Regions from separate parts of the Homo sapiens genome. Here region 2 is linked to region 1. Evidence: promoter capture Hi-C in human tissues and cell types (Jung and others, 2019). All regions are on one chromosome and are shown on one strand. Each heading gives the region's core, a stretch centred on a gene start or on the middle of the fragment in contact. The rest is flanking DNA. Distances are from core to core; before and after follow the strand shown.

The links. Contacts are between HindIII fragments. The study calls those that stand out against the background at their distance.
Region 2: a fragment that was not itself captured here is called in contact with the fragment with the promoter of CABP1 in region 1 in 5 of the 25 tissues and cell types used here (adrenal gland, pancreas, small bowel and 2 more).

Annotation. Positions count from the first base shown.
Region 1 is chr12:120,639,312-120,642,605 of GRCh38, reverse strand. It overlaps CABP1 (calcium binding protein 1), which reads right to left and starts at 1,980. Exons shown (of 6, transcript NM_001033677.2): 1 at 1,267-1,980. The coding sequence starts at 1,920. CABP1-DT (CABP1 divergent transcript) reads left to right here and starts at 2,084. Exons shown (of 2, transcript NR_183426.1): 1 at 2,084-2,556. RefSeq lists silencers at 1,001-1,100, 1,321-1,490, 1,501-1,600, 1,821-2,120. The HindIII fragment of the contact is 37,846 bases long and covers 1-3,294 here.
Region 2 is chr12:120,801,722-120,805,021 of GRCh38, reverse strand. All of the region lies in intron 2 of SPPL3 (signal peptide peptidase like 3), which reads left to right. Among named protein-coding and RNA genes, the nearest start is that of ACADS, 78 kb to the right of the region's middle. The HindIII fragment of the contact is 8,897 bases long and covers 1-3,300 here.

The DNA.
Region 1 (3,294 bases), core at 731-3,230:
CTCTACTCCAGAGAACTGTTTCCAGCTAACTCGGCTAACGAGGGCTCCCTGCAGGAACAAAGCCACACACCACTGCCCTATGGCCCCACCACAGCAGCACCACGCAACCCAAATCCATGTGCGGCTGCCTTCATGTCAGACCTCCACCAGCATCAGCCACTGCCGAGTAGTATTTTGAAAAGAAATGTGCAGATCTGAAGCAAAACACACAGGGCCTCCTTGGAATTCTGATCCGGCGTGGCAAGCCAGGAGCTTGAAACAGCTTCTTTATGCTAGATCTCAGCACAGAAAGGCACAGCCCCCCCTGTTTCCCTACAAACCACGCAAACGCTCTAATCAGACCTCTGCATGACACCTCTCGGAGGCTGCCACAGAACTGTCTCAAAGCTGTGCCAATGAGTTTGACTTGATTACAGACTCCGAACTAGGGGAAACCCTGGCTTTTTTGCTCAGGAGTTCAGAGGTTTCCTTCTACTGAGCCTGTTTCCCCAGCAGCACAGCCTCAAACTGTAGACCTATATTGTGACTACGGAGCTGCTTTTAAAGGGCAGGCTCCCAGGTGCCTGGGACTCTTGAGGGAAAGGCCTGAGGGAACCACTGATGACCTCTTTGTGGCCTTTCTCACCCTTCCAATGGCATCCCTAGAGTGACAGCCTCCTTAAACCACCCCAAAGTTCCAGTTTGAGCCACAGCTCTGCATGCCCCTCCATGCCTACCCAGACACCTCTTCTCTTTCCTCATATTTTTGGATCTCCTAACTTTTCTCAGGCCTTCAGGGACATGATAGGCAGTGGCCAGTGTCCCTCGCCCTCAAGTAATTCTGTGTTCTCTGAGGTCCCCTCTCTTGACCCCCAGACTCCAAACCGCTTGCTCTCCTGAGTCCCTCCCTGGCGGTACTGGCCAGAGGCCAGAGGAGTGGGTTTGGCGCCACCTGCTCGGAGCGCCCCTCCTTGACCCCCGCAAATCTCCAGGACGGTCGTAGAGGTCGCTCTCTTCCAGGACTGGCGGGTTCTGGCGGGTATGAGGGAGGCTAGCGGGGAGGGCCTTGCCCCAAGAGGCCCGGAGCGTGGACAGCGCACGGGGTGCTGAATCAGGCACGGGGAGGAGGAGTGCCGGCAAGGGCGCCGGCCCGGGGAGGACGAGGTGAGCCGAGGCGTGATCCGTGGGGGACCACGGGCCGCGGGAGGAGGCTGTGGACGCGCAACCGCGGCCGGCAGGGTCCCGAGCGCCTTTCCCGGGAGCGCTGACGGGAGGCGCGGCCCTTACCTGGCCAAAGGCGGAGCTGAGCATGGGGCGCAGCCGGTGGAGGAACGGGTCCGCCTCGGACGCGGCGGCTGGAACGGAGTCCCCGCGGCCCCGGGCTCGCAGAGAGCCCCGGAGGCCGAGCGCCGGGGACAGTCCCCGTTCCTCCCCATCCCGCCCGCGGGCCGGCGGCAGCGGCGACGACGGCGAAGGTCGGGACGCCGCGGCCGGCAGCGCCTCCCGGGGCCTGCAGTGCGCCTGGGGGAGCACACGCTGGCTCCCCCGCGCGCCCTCCTCTCGCGGCGCCGGCCGGCACAGGGGCCTCCGCGAACTGGGGTCCCCGGACGACTGCGGCGTCGCCGGGCAGGAGCCGGGTAGCCGGCGGCTAGGCAGCCCCGGGTCCCGGGCAGGGCCGTGGCGGGGAGCCCGGCTGCCCCCGCTCGCCGCCGCCGCCGCCGCCTTCAGCAGCGACGTCTTGGACTCGCTTTTGGCGATGTGCGAGCTCATCGCGGCGGGGCCCGCGCTCGCATGGCCCGGCGGGGGCGGCGCGGTGCGGCGCGGCGCGGGGCCCCCGGCGGGCAGAGAACGGGGCTCCCGGCGGGAGCCAAGCCCGAGGACGCGCTGGAGGCGGGCGCCGTCCCCCGGCCGCTTAAATGCGGCCCCGTCGCCGCCGCCCATGTGACAGCGCAGCCTCTACGCCCGGAGCCCGGAGCTCCCGGCGGCTGGCGGTGCAGATCTGGGGGCGCTGCCGGCTGTCCCCGGAGAGCCCACCCCCGGCTCCCTGGCGGCCCAGGTACCGCCGCGCCCCGCCCCTTGCCCCGCCCCGCCCTGGGGGAGCCCCGCTTCCGGGCGGCCCCTGGCGGCGAAGGGGACGCTGCAACGCGGAGCGGGAGCACGAGGAGGGAAGGGGCTTGGCAATGGGCCCCAAAGAGGCCGAGACCCCGGGAGTGCCGGCAGCGCTCTTTATCACGCCTGGAGGCTCCTGCAGAGCCCCGGAACCGCCCGAACCTCCAGAAATGCAGGCAGGGTGCACTCCCCAGGGGGTACAACTTTGGCAATGAGGACTACAGAGGTCCGGGGAGAACCGGAGACCCGAGGAGCATGAAGGCACTCTGTGACATCACTGCCTACAAACGCAGGGGCCGGAATGCAGTGACAGGACACTGCTGGGAGGAAAGTCTCCCAGCGCCTCCGTGTGGGGCTGCCTCCACTCCCAATACCGTGCGGGGGGACTAGGACGACCCTGGTAAGTCAGCCACAGGATATCAGTTCTCAGAATAGAAGAGAAGCCAGGTCTGGCAGCACCTGATGATGGTAAGTCTCAGGTAGGACCCATTTGCTCCCCCTCCAGCTCTTGTCCCCTCTTTCACCTTCCTGCCTTTCTAGATGCTACAGAAATTCCTGCTCTCGGTGGGCAGCCAGGGAGCGTCCCAGGCCTTATCTGAATCTCAAATCCCAGCTCTGCCACCTACCATCTGGGTAACTTGGGCAGGTGTCATCAACCTCTCTGAGCCTTGTTCTCCTCTTCTGTAAAATGCAGATGATAAGCATAACTAATTTCTTGGTAACAGCAGACGATACTATGCACACAAAAGGCCTAGCCCAGTGCTCGGACAGGGGACCATCCAGTTAAGCCAGTTCCCTTCCCCCTGCACATCGTGAGGCCCCATCTACCATTCTTCTTTAGTATCCGGTGCTTGAGCTTTGCGGGGGGCTGGAGGGGTTCCTCCCAGGCTCTCCCTGTTCTGGTCCCTGGCCCCAATGCCATCCACAGTCTTGTCACCGCTCGGCCTCATTAAAAGGATACACGAGGCCGGGCACAGTGGCTCGCACCTGTAATCCCAGCACTTTGGGAGGCCAAGACCGGCGGATCACTTGAGGTCAGGAGTTCGAGACCAGCCTGGCCAACATGGTGAAACCCTGTCTCTACTAAAAATACAAAAATTAGCCAGGCGTGGTGGTGGGCGCCTGTAATCCCAGCCACTTGTAGGCATGAGAATAACTTGAACCCGGGAAGTGAAAGTTGCAGTGAGCCGAGATTGGGTCACTACA
Region 2 (3,300 bases), core at 237-2,736, 160 kb before region 1:
TATTCTGGACCTCTCGTATAAGTGGTGTCATACAGTATGTGACCTTTTGTTACTGGCTTCTTTCACTTAGCATGTTTTTGAAGTTTATCTGTGTTGTAGCATGTTATCAGTATTTCATTCCTTTTTATTACTGAATAATACTTTTTGTTTTTCCATTCATTGGCTGATAGACGTTTGGGTTGTTTCCCTTTTTTGGCTTTTATGAATAATGTTACTGTGAACATTTGTGTACAAGTTTCTGTGCAGACATAACATATTTATTGCCCTCAAGCAGATACCTAGTAGCAGAATTGCTGGGTCTAATGGTAACTCTTAGTCTTAACATTTTAAGAAATGCTTCTGTTTTCCAAGGCAGCTATGCTATTGTACATTCCCACTAGCAATGTATGAGGTTTCCAATTTCTCCACTTCTTCACCAACACTTGTTATTATCTATCTTTATGATTATAGCTATTCTACTGTTCTGGTGGGTATGAAGTGGTATCTCATTATAATTTTGGTTTGCATTTTCTTAATGCCTACTGATGTTGAGCATCTTTTCATGTGCCCATTTGCCATCTATGTCTCTTCTTTGGTGTCTTTTCAACTCTTCTGTCCATTTTTAAATTGGGTTTTCTTTTTCTTGTTGAATTTTGAGTGTTCTTTCTTTATTGTGAAAATGGGTTTTTGTTATAAGTGCCTCTGGGTTTGTCTTTTCACTTTCTGTATGCTTATAATTGTTATCTATTTCTTGACTTTTATAAAATGTTCCTCTTTATCTCTAGTAACAGTTTCTGTCTTAACATTGTCCAAAAAAGGCTATTTAGATTTTCTTGAGTTAGTTTTTGGTCATTTGTATTATAACTCAAGAGTAACTAGTTCCTTTTTTGTAAAGGCAAGCACCTACCAATGCTTTCTTAGGTAATGAGGGCAGTTCATTTACGTATACCCAAACCTACTCTAGGAAGACAACATCAGGTTAGTAAGCCTGCAGAGATGCTGAGTTCTTTAATAAGAACTATACTTGATATGATTGTGATGCCCTTCATTCTAAGTGCATATAATTGTAGTTAGACCATGGTTCACCAGAACAAGTGTCACTATGGTTCACAATTGTCATGATGTTCTAATTGTGTGTAATATGTTGATTAACTTTTGAGCTACCCTTTTTGTCATTCCATAACTCGTCCTACTTGAAGAAAACATCATACACAGAAGCCTGAACTTGTTAGATGACGTAGGGAATGATTTTGTCCATTGCAGCGTGTGTAGACAAGTTTTTTTATATATTTAAGAATTTCATCAATTCACTATTAAATGTTCAATTTATAAAACCACTGTAAGTTTTCTAGGAACACATATTTAACTTAACCTAACTTTAACCATGTAATGTTTACCTTGAACCAGTGAGTCCCCGCTTCATTGTACTCACTTTCAATAGTAGAATTATCAAAAAACTTTCTTTTTAAAATTTTTTATAAATTAAAATTTTATTATTTTTTCATTTTTTCACTCCTTTCTGGAGCTGAGAAAAAAATAATGTTAAGGTTAAAAATTCCAATTTGCTTTTCTCCTCCAGTAATTCACAGTGTCCTCAGGTATCAGAATGCAAATGGATGAACGAGTATAACTTTCAATAAACTGATCTGCTCTCCCCTCCATTTTGCTTCCTACAATTGTTTATTTGTGCTCTTCACTGCCCGATTTCAGAGCATGTACTAACTTTTGCAAGTTACTTCAAGGAAAAATAAAATGGGGCCAAAGAAAACTAAAAGTATGAGTGGAGACAAAATAGAGCCAAAAAAGAAATGTAAAAATGCATACCATAATGCCAGCACTCCTGTTACTAGTGTTTCACAAGGACCACCATAAGCTTTGTAGCAGCCAGATTTAAAAAGAAAGAATGTAAAACTCAGCTTCCTTCCATCAAAAGAACTCAGTTGTTCAGGTGAATCGCAACTGTTCTTGGCCTTAAGATCAGACAGACTTTTATCCTAACGACCTTCATAAAGAGGATATAATGTTAAGTTCATTCATCTCACAGTAGGCATTCAAATAAGTGTTTGTTGAATGAATTGTAGTACCTTCAATATAAGTTGGTGGCATTGCATGAAAATGTATTTCAGCAAAAGCAGTTTTGCCAAAATTGAAGGTGCACAGTGGGCAACAGGATGTTGTTGTTTAGATAACCATCTTACTGCTAAGTGTGGTCTAAGGTTATATTTTGGAATATCTGGAGAATGAATGGGCTGTTAATTCTTAAACTGGTTATTCTTGAATGTTGATCTGTTAATAAATATTGGTAGCAGACCAGGCACGGTGGCTCACGCTTGTAATCCCAGCATGTTCAGAGGCCAAGGTGGGAGGATCACGTGAGGTCAGGAGTTCCAAGACCAGCCTGGCCAACATGGTGAAACTCCATCTCTACTCAAAATACAAAAATTAGCCAGGCGTGTTGATGCATGCCTGTAATCCCAGCTACTCAGGAGGCTGAGGCAGGAGAATCGCTTGAACTGGGAGGCAGAGGTTGCAGTGAGCCGAGATTGCGCCACTGCACTCCAGCCTGGGCCACAAACTGAGACTCCATCTCAAAAAGGAAAAAAAAAAAAAATATATATATATATATACACACACACACACACACATATATGTGTATATATATACATATATATGTATATATATACACACATACATACATACATACATATATAAAAGCAGCAGCCCAAAAATGTATTATGTTGCCAGCTAAATACAGACCTAGTTGTCTTAACAGCACTCATGGTGCATTCGTATTTTTATCAGAATGAAGGAACCTAATACCTAAATATAAGCCCATGTTTCCCCTTGTCCTGAGGCAGGCAGTGGAAGTTCCTAAAGGCAGGCCTAGAATCTTCCTCAGAAAATCCTTTTTAATCCACTCTAGGACATAAAGAAATGAGTAGTTGATTTCCTAAAGTTCTGTTCCTTGCAACTGAATTAATTCTAGCCTGAAACAAATTTAGGGCAAATATAACCAGATCTCTACCTCAGCCACACTAAAATCTTATTAAGGCACTCACAGAATATTAATATACTTCTTGATATAGTGTCTGTAATAAACTTCATGTGAAATGTACATCAAAGTGACCAAAACACCAAACTGGAATTTATACTTACACCCAATTTAAAGTTGAAGAATGTTGATGAGTTGTCATTCTAACTGACACTAATTAGCTGACAGGGTCAGTGGCCATCTGGACCTTACCCAGTTCAAGGCTAAACCATATCATTCACCTATAAAGCCTGCTGGTCTTAATATTTCTCTGTAGTAAGACAGCTCAT